Linked DNA regions of Homo sapiens: all the other regions are linked to region 2. Evidence: promoter capture Hi-C in human tissues and cell types (Jung and others, 2019). All regions are on one chromosome and are shown on one strand. The core of a region is centred on a gene start or on the middle of the fragment in contact, and the rest is flanking DNA. Distances in the headings are between cores, read along the strand shown. Region 1 overlaps SRGAP1 (SLIT-ROBO Rho GTPase activating protein 1). Region 2 holds the start of SRGAP1 (SLIT-ROBO Rho GTPase activating protein 1). Region 3 overlaps SRGAP1 (SLIT-ROBO Rho GTPase activating protein 1).

Evidence for each region. The method cuts DNA at HindIII sites, captures the fragments that hold promoters and counts their contacts. A contact is called where the count stands out against the background at its distance.
Region 1: a fragment that was not itself captured here is called in contact with the fragment with the promoter of SRGAP1 in region 2 in 1 of the 25 tissues and cell types used here (hippocampus).
Region 3: a contact is called between a fragment that was not itself captured here and the fragment with the promoter of SRGAP1 in region 2, in 1 of the 25 tissues and cell types used here (dorsolateral prefrontal cortex).

Annotation. Positions count from the first base shown.
Region 1 is chr12:64,074,576-64,077,902 of GRCh38, reverse strand. All of the region lies in intron 8 of SRGAP1 (SLIT-ROBO Rho GTPase activating protein 1), which reads right to left. Among named protein-coding and RNA genes, the nearest start is that of KICS2, 150 kb to the left of the region's middle. The HindIII fragment of the contact is 7,857 bases long and covers 1-3,327 here.
Region 2 is chr12:63,842,951-63,845,987 of GRCh38, reverse strand. SRGAP1 (SLIT-ROBO Rho GTPase activating protein 1) reads right to left here and starts at 1,288. Exons shown (of 22, transcript NM_020762.4): 1 at 1,105-1,288. The coding sequence starts at 1,171. RefSeq lists silencers at 1,446-1,705, 1,816-1,875, 1,936-2,355 and enhancers at 1,282-1,781, 1,782-2,283. The HindIII fragment of the contact is 18,473 bases long and covers 1-3,037 here.
Region 3 is chr12:64,051,625-64,054,988 of GRCh38, reverse strand. All of the region lies in intron 6 of SRGAP1 (SLIT-ROBO Rho GTPase activating protein 1), which reads right to left. Among named protein-coding and RNA genes, the nearest start is that of KICS2, 170 kb to the left of the region's middle. The HindIII fragment of the contact is 3,643 bases long and covers 1-3,295 here.

The sequences.
Region 1 (3,327 bases), core at 181-2,680, 230 kb before region 2:
TGATTTGTTGAGATGGATATGAGTCTTTTTGTAGTTGTATGTGTTGCAAATATTTTTCCCCACTGTGCTGTGGTTTTTCCCTCTTTCAATAGTGTCCAGATGAACAAAGATTCTAATTTTAATATAATGCATTTATCAATTCTTTCCTTTTAGTGTTTTTTGTGTCCTATTTAAGAAATATTTTCCTATCTCATAGCCATAAAGATACTGCTTTATGTTATCTGTTAGGAGCTTATTTATTTATTAATCTCCTAGTAGTCTTTTTATTCACTGAAGGTCATATTCTACCTTTGCTTATCAAAGTATAATGTAAATTGATAGCTTTTTCCTTCTGTCACACAATGTAAAGAGTTTAGAACACCTTAACTTCATTTACTCCTCCTGATTTATATGCTATTTTTGTAATATATTATAATAGAATATATATAAATATTAATATATAAATTTAAGACATTATTATTTTATGTAGTCAAGATTCACTTAGCATCACCCATGTATTTATTACATTCTTTGATGTCGAGTGCTTATATTTTAAGTGTACCCTTTAGAAGTTCTTTTTAGTATGTGTCTGTTTTGTTGACTTGACAACGTCTTTTATTTCACCTTCATTTACTAAATATCTTTTTCTGTGCAGCAGTTATTTTCTTTTTGTATATTAGAAATATATCACTGTACTTTGTTGTGGCTTCTATGTTCCTGTTGAGTGAGAAGGTTACCATCAGTCTGTCATTGCTTTGAATAAAATCTGCTTTCTTTTTCCAGCTGCTTTAAAAATTTTCCATTCATCTTTGGGTTTCTACAATTTCACTGTAATATATCTAGGTAAGGATTTAAAAAATATATTCTGCCTGGAATTTCTTGGACTGCTTGAATTTGTGTGATGTTTTTCATAGGTTTTAGTAAGTTTGCAGCTTTTATCTTTTCAAATATTGACTCTATATTCTTTAATTTTTCTTTCTGAGCGGGGCGTGGTGACTCACACCTGTAATCCCAGCACTTTGGGAGGCTGAGGCGGTGGATCGCTTGAGGTCAGGAGTTCGAGACCAGCCTGGCCAATATGGTGAAACCCTGTCTCTACTAAAAATACAAAATAGCTGGGCGTGGTGGTATGTGCCTGTAATCCAGCTACTCGGGAAGCTGAGTCAGAAGAATTGCCTGAACCCAGGAGGCAGAGGGTGCAGTGAGCTGAGATCGTGCCACTGCACTCCAGCCTGGGCGAAAAAGTGAGACTCTGTCTCAAAAAAAAAAATTTTTTTTTCTTTCTGGGAGTTCAATTAGTATATTAGACATTACTGTGTTCTCTATATCTCTTATTCTTCTTTTCCATATTTTATTATCTTTTGTTTTTGATGCTGCGTTTTTATTATTTCTTCTGATTTGTCTGCTTTCATGATTTATTTTTTAGCTCTACCTGATGTTAAACTCACCCACTGCTTTCTTAATTTTGGTTATTTCTCAGTGCTAGAATTCCTATGTAGCTCATTTTCAAATCTGTTATTTTAGTGCTTATGATTTCCTGATGAAATCTAAGCTTGGCTTTTAAAAACCTCCTTGAACATTGTAAATAGTTCTTTTGTCATTTATTTCTGATAATCCCAATATCTGGAGTTCCTGTGGGTGTGTCTCTATTGTCTATTATTTCTTCTGGCTATCACTCATGGTTTCTTATCTCCTCATTGTCTAATTATCTTTGCTAGATATTTTTTGTAGAGTTACTTGAGGTCAAAGGTGAGGTTATCCTCCAAAGAGAATGTTTATTTTCCCAAACCATTAGGGGCACTAATAGCTCAGAATCTCTGGATTTTATTACTGTTCAAAATATTGGATGCTCTTCCTTTTGGGAAGATATGGTTCCCTGTGTCACAGGTTTCAGGCTTGGCCATGCATCTTGTCCTAGAAAATGAACTTTGAAAGAATCAGTTGAGTGACCCAGTCCATCATTACAGGAAGTGGAAATCTTTTCAATTACTTTTTTTTTTTTTTGAACAAAATAATGTTTGGGAAAGAAACAGTAGCAATTAGTACTAGTTTGGATGCTTAGAAGGTCATGTGATGGAATTAATATTAAAAAAAGAAGGGAAAGAAATTTAATAGACAATAATCATTCCTGGGGTTATGCACAATGCAAAGAGTAGATACTGTTGGAAAAAAAGCATATTAATGACCATTAAAAATACTGTAATTAATTACTTTAAGGAGGTCATAATCAAATATCTATAGACTGAATTAAAAGAGTCACCATCCTACACTAGTCAAATAGGCTCTTGTAGCTTGTAGACAAATTTCTAATGACAGTATCACGCACAGGTTTTAAAAGCACTGTATTTCAAACAAACAGATGTGAAGATGGTATACTCTGAGAAAAGTGTACTTGATGACTCTGTTGGGAACAAGCCCCCCAAAATCTGGCCATAAACTGGCCCCAAAACTGGCCATAAACAAAATCCCTGCAGCACTGTGACATGTTCATGATGGCCATAACACCCACACTGGAAGGTTGTGGGTTTACCGCAAGAGGGCAAGGAACACCTGGCCCGCCCAAGTCGGAAAACTGCTTAAAGGCATTCTTAAGCCACAAACAATAGCATGAGCGATCTGTGCCTTAAGGACATGCTCCTGCTGCAGTTAACTAGCCCAACCTATTCCTTTAATTCGGCCCATCCCTTCGTTTCCCATAAGGGATACTTTTAGTTAATCGAATATCTATAGAAACAATGCTAATGACTGGCTTGCTGTTAATAAATATGTGGGTAAATCTCTGTTTGGGGCTCTCAGCTCTGAAGGCTGTGAGACCCCTGATTTCCTACTTCACACCTCTATATTTCTGTGCGTGTGTCTTTAATTTCTCTAGCGCCGCTGGGTTAGGGTCTCCCCGACCGAGGTGGTCTCGGCAGACTCAAAATGTGGCTCTGGTAATGACAAACACAATATCAGGATATATGAAGAGCCTTCATAAAATTGTGAAAATGAGAAAAATATAGTATTTCTAAATTAAAAGTTTTATATAATGTGATTTAAAATATTTGTGCATAACTAAATTAATAGCTGAATACTGAAGGTAAATATTTGACTATGTTATCTACATCTCCATAAATTTTATATTTATAATACTTTTAAAAAATGGAAGCCTTTACTTGTGCCAATATTTAGTAATTAAAATACTACAAAGTAAATGCTGTTATTTCTTTATTCAATTAAACTCTTGAAATTGACAAACATGTAAGAAAACAGGCAAAACTCAGTATACTGTGTTGTCTGAGAAGTCAGGGAAGGTGCCATTCAAAAGATAAATTTTGAGTATGTATTAAAAGGTGAGTAGGTGTTCAC
Region 2 (3,037 bases), core at 39-2,538:
GCATTTTTACAACTTGACCACACAAAAGAACACTCAGGCTGCTCCTCCCTTGCTCAAGGGAAGTACAGTAATGCCTCTCTCCGTAGCCCTTTCATAAGACTGTGCATAGATAAACACAGGTGTATACATAGCAATCTTTATGAACTTTGCATTGAATGTGTCAAAGAACAGTGGCGGTCCCAACATTCCATCCATTGTCTCAATCAGGAAAGCTACTCCTGAGACCTCAGGAAAGAGGAGGAAAAAATTCAAGTAACACATATGTTTACGAAACACTTCAGTAACAAAACAAAATACTTGTATTGGAGAGAAAATATATATATTTTTAATCACAAGGCATAGAAAGTAAAAATAATCAGCCTTAATTAGGTTTCCTTCATTAGTTGACAATGTAAATGGACTGAAACTACTACTCAAATATTCAAACCTTCATTTTACATGCAAGTGGCTTCCAGAAAATGATAAAGCAATATTCCCATGTGAGTGTGAAAGATGGCAATGAATTCTGGCCCATTATAAAGGAAGAGTCAGATTCCACTAGTCACTGCTTCGTTTAACTGCCAGGCTTTTAGGGAGCTATTTAATAAAAGGGGTCTCGCCCTAATAAATTGTGAGCGGTGTAAATAGGTGAGTGGTGTAAATATCTGAAATAGCCTGCACTCAATGAGGCTGTAGACCGCTTGGGGTTCACAGACTTTACAAAAATCATTCCGTAAAAAAATTACGTAGTGACAATCCTACCATTTAAAAAGAATAATGATGGTGATAATAATAGCTGGACAGGATCCTCCACTGCTGCCTGCTTCCCACATAAGTTGCCCAGCTGAAGGTGGTTAAGTTAAAGCCAGTTCTCTCCCCATTAGAGATGCGGGCTGGCAGCTGGCGGGGGAAGTCACCCAGTTTCCAGCTCCCCGTGGGTTTGACGGGACTGGGATTGCAACTGGGAACTAACTGGCTTGTAGGAAGCCCAGGTGGCTCAGACAGGGCTCGAGCTGTCCCCTCACCACCTTCCTCCCACGCAGACACCAAGTTAGATACGCAACTCCACGAGCACAATGACAAGAAGGCACACAAAAGGAGCAAGGCAGCCGCTCCCATCCTTACCTTTGACTTGACTTTCATACTCGGCTATGATCTCTTTGTCCTTCTTGAATCGGCTCGGGGTGGACATTATCCAGCTGTTCCGGGTTTGCTTTCAATGGGCAAGTTTTGTTCAGTGGTCACAACCCGTTCTCCTTGGAGAGGCAGAGTTGTACTCCCACACGCAGGCAATCCAGAGGCAGCGCCGACCCGAGGGAAGGGAGGAGGGAGAGGAGAAGTAGGAGGAGGAGGGGAAAAAGAGCGAGTAGAGAGGACTAGATTAGCCCGGGCGCTGGCACCATACTCTCGAAATTGAGCTCCGTCGGTAATCCCAGGGGATCCCCGGGGGAGAGGCCGGACGCGCAGGCAAACTCCAGCCAGCGAGTGGCGGGGGACGTCTCCCTGCCCACCTCGCCGGGAGCCCGGCCACTTCCTCTACGGCCGCTGGGCGGGCGCGGGGCTCGCGCCGGCGCTCCGCACCATTGTTCGAGACCCGCACCGGGCGCCCGGGACAGGGCCAGCGGCGGAGGGCAGGCGCTGGGAACGCGCCCAGCTCGGGCGCCACAACCCTCCCTTCCTGCCTCCAGCTGTCGGCTCCGGCGCTCAAGGGTCCCGCCCGGGCTGGGGATGCTGCTGCCACGGCCGCCGCTCCTCTGCCCGCAGACACTGCCGCTACAGCTCGGCAGGCGAAAGGAATCGCAGTCCTGACGCGAGTCCCCGCTGCTGCTGAGAGGGTGAAGGCGGCGACGCTCAGACGCGCCCTGGGCACAGCCCCGGCGGAGTTTAGGTCTCCAGAGCCGGCGCCGCGAGGGGCCTCTGCCTCCCTGGCCGCGGTGCGCCGAGGCTGCCTTTCTCTGCGTCCCCCTTTCCGCTGCTGCCCCCAGGAGGCCGCTAGTGACAGGCACACTCGCACACGCACGCGGGAGCCGCGCCCCCGGCGGCAGCAAAGTTGAGGGTGCGCACACGGCTCGCGCCTCGCGGGCGCCCGGCTAGCGATCTGCGGGCGGTGGCTCCTCGGGGCTCCGCCAGGCGGGGCCAGGCTCGCGGGAGCGGACCGCGCTCCGGCCTGTGCCCTTCTCCGTCCAAGCTCCCGCCCCTGCTCCGCTAGGAAACGCCTGGCTGGTCCGGGAAGATGGATGCCTCTTGTGGCCAACCGCAGCCCGGCCCCGCGCGCCGAGCCCAGGAGGCCGTGGGCGGCGCCCCCGGCACCTCCCTCCGCCGAGGCCCCGCACCTCCCTCCGCCGAAGCCCCGCTCCACCGCTAGCCGAGGTCGCGGCTCCGGCGGCAGGAAAACCCCTTCCTGACCTGAGGGACCGCCTTCTGGCTCTGGCGGGGGCTCTGGTGGGGCTTTTGCCAGAATCTAATGGGGAAGTCCAGAGTTGGATGTATCCATGACACAAAGGGATGTTACTCCGAGACGCTGGACCCCAATAGAAAAACTGAACACTGAATTGTGAATGACCTGGCTGTTAATCCAAAGAGCGCGAAGCTCTTCAATCGAGGCGGAGAAAAACACCCACCTTGAACACCATATCCTCTATTCCTACAGTAGATAGGGAAGCTAGGATGGTAGGAAAGCGATGGTATGGAAACACGTCACACTTAACGGCGTTGTTAGCTTATTTATTTACTAAACTCCAGATTTTATTCCAATTTTACCAATTTTTTCGACTAGTGTCATTTTTTCTGTTCCAAGATCCAACACAGGACACTACATTGCACTTAGTACTTTTACGGTTGTTTTTGTTTTTGTTTTTTGATTTTGTTTTTTGGGGGTTTTTTTTGAGACGGGGTCTCACTCTCGCCCAGGCTGGAGTGCAGGGGCACGAGCTCCGCTCACTGCAACCTCCGCCTCCCGGGTTCAAGTGATTCTCCTGGCTCAGCCTCCAGAGTAGGTGTGACTACAGGCGCCCGCCACCGTGCCTGGGTAATTTTTGTATCTTTAGTAGAAACAGGG
Region 3 (3,364 bases), core at 225-2,724, 210 kb before region 2:
CAACCGCATATTCTCACTCATAGTTGGGAATTGAACAATGAGCTCACATGGACACAGGAAGGGGAATATCACACTCTGGGGACTGTGGTGGGGTGGGGGGAGGGGGGAGGGATAGCATTGGGAGATATACCTAATGCTAGATGACAAGTTAGTGGGTGCAGTGCACCAGCATGGCACATGTATACATATGTAACTAACCTGCACAATGTGCACATGTACCCTAAAACTTAAAGTATAATAATAAAAGAAAAAAAAACTTAAAACAAAACAAAACAAAAAAAGCCAACTACTTCAGTCATCCAACTCATTTCAGTTTTTAAATACCCTTTCTATCACAAAGGGATAAAACCATGCCTAAATCAGTTTACATTATCTCTACAATATCCTAACCCATTTAACATGATCTCTCCATAATCTTCCTAATAGGAGTTCATGTCTAATGGGGAATACAGTACTACAATGGGACAGGTTTCCATGGACAAATCTTAATACCGTTATATGGGGGAAAAGTCAAACTAAGAAAACTCTGAACTCTGAATAAGTTGCTTTTTAATTAAACACATGTCCCAAGACACAAAAAAGATAAGGCTAAAAGCTTTAACGTAGCTGATTATTCAGAAAAGATAAAAAAGGATGGCAGGCAATATATGATGTAATCTAATTTCAATCTTATTCTGCATAAATGGCCAATAAAACACATGTGACAGATAATCTCTATGAAGAAAACTGGCTGGAGTAGGGGATTATTCCTTGGCAATATTCCATAATTATAATAACAAAGATTTATCTTTCACGCTTTCAACCAACCTGCAAATGTTTATAGGGAGAAACTGGAGACCATGAAACTGTACTGCAAGGATGACAAATACTTTATTATTACTGGGCAGGTGCTCTGGGAGAAAGCACGGATAGAATTTTATTGTTGAGGACTGAGTTTCTCTGAATACATTTTGAAGGTGTGGAACTGAACTGGAAGAGGCTACATTATCAGTAATGCAATTTTAAAACCAGTTGCTTTAAGAATTCCATATTTTCAGTGTGTTGAATCTGATTATAGATCAGAGGATCCTAGCATTAAGACTTGTACTCTAATTCTTTTCTCTTAGCAAATCATAATCTTTTGGAACTCTCAGCATTCAATTACAAATATTTGTTGCCTGTTATGATTTTTCTTCTAGTTGTAACACATCCTAATTCTTACAGGATAATAAGTTATAGGCTCTTTTGCACTTAATATTGGGGATAATAATTATCACTGATATTTAAACTATTATTTACAAACACTACAATCTATTTTCCTCTACAATGATACCTTTATTCTCCCAACCAATTAAACTTCCTTTGGCCAATATTTGCAATATATTTATTCTTACAATTTATATTTATTCTTTAGCATGACATAATAAAAGTCCTTATTTGTTGTGAAATTAACAGTGTATTCCACTTCCCACTTGATTCCAAGCTAAGAGATTGTTATTTTACAAATTAAAATTTATTTAGGACTTTCTTCAGAGACAGAGGAGAAGCACTCTTAAAAGTCTTCTGTTTTAAGTGATACTCCAGGTTAACTAACACTTGCTTCATTTTATAAATCAGGATCCGCAAACTAGAGCCTATGAGCCAAATCCAGCCCGCAGCTTGGTAAGGTAAAGAAAGTCTGACTGCAATACAACCACACCCGTTTGCTTACTTATTATCTATGGCTACTTTTGCACTAGAGTTGAGTAGCTGTGACACAGACAATATGGGCTCACAAACCCTAAAATATTTACCATCTGGCCCCTTACAGAAAATGTTTATCCACCCTTGCTCTCAAGCATAGTGACCAATGCCAAAGGCAATGTGAACACACACAGCCAGTAGGTGCTCTCTAATACTCCTCTACATTTCTGCTCCAACAATTCATCTGTATGCCTCCAAGAACAGACTGTACAATATTTGTGCCATTTATATTTATAACTATAATTTAATTACCTATGAAATAAACTGATAAAATAAGTCTAAAAAATTGTTGGAAAGACTCAGGAGTAAACAAAATTGCTATTAGGTGAGGCAAAGGTATAACAACTGTGCAAGATTGTGAAAACGTTGTACATGTCCAGAATATTTTTTCTTCATGAAAAAACCCTCAAAACTAGAAATTATAAATGATACACAACGAAAGTGATTTGTGTAAAGAAAGATTACTCTGAACTCTGTACAACAGATAAATCATTAAAAGTATATAATGCATAGTAAAAACAAAGAACAAAAAGATAAATCATAATATTAAAAGATTGGCAGGTACAAGTATATTGGTGAGCTTTAGATTAAACATATTTAAGGCATATATCTATCATTTTACTAATTCCATGCTTTTTCTTTTTTAAATATAAAATATGCCATACTTACAGAAAAGTACAAAACATATACGTTTATTTTGTTTTTTTTTTTGAGACTGACTTTTCTTCTTGTCGCCTAGGCTGGAGTACAATGGCGCAATCTTGGCTCACTGCAACATCCACCTCCCAGGTTCAAGCGATTCTCCTGCCTCAGCCTCCTGAGTAGCTGGGATTATAGGCACCCACCACCACGCCTGGCTAATGTTTTTGTATTTTTAGTAGAGACAGGGTTTCACCATGTTGGTCAGCTGGTCTCGAACTTCTGACCTCAGGTGATCTGCCTGCCTCAGCCTCCCGAAGTGCTGGGATTACAGGTGTGAGCCACCGTGCCCAGGTTATGTTCCTTTTAATGTTACTGATATTTCAGAAGTTCTCCAAGTTCCCCCTCCCCAGTCACAGTTCCTTCCCTTCTCCATAGACATAATTCAATATCTGGAGTACCCACAAGTGTCCAACCCTTGTTTGGTATACTACATTCAAATATTTTCAGCTGAAATAAAAGAATAGATACTTGGTTAACAATTGAGCCATTTTCTTCATTGTATTACCATCAATATCAATAAACGTTAGAGTTCTGATATCTAATATTTTTAACTTGGACTTGATCAAGAAATTAATTTTTACCTACTAAGTTTATGAAGGAGTCATGTTCAGTGATGGAACTCATCATAATGTTCATTCATTGATCCTAACAAGGCACAATTAAGTATGTAAGATTTACTAAAAATACATTTCAGTAGACCTCCAAAAACCATTATTTATAAATGATTAGAGATTTTCTACATTGGCAGCAATTTCTCAGAGAGATACAGAGAAAAAGAGAGAGAGACAGAGAGAGAAAGAGAGAATGCACTTTAGTAATTCAAACTAATATTGATAGGTAAAGGTTATCTCAAACAGATAAAAATTGAGAATTATTAAATATTTTTAAAACCATTAGATCACCTCTAAATATATAGAAAAGACAAACTTGTCTATTAAAG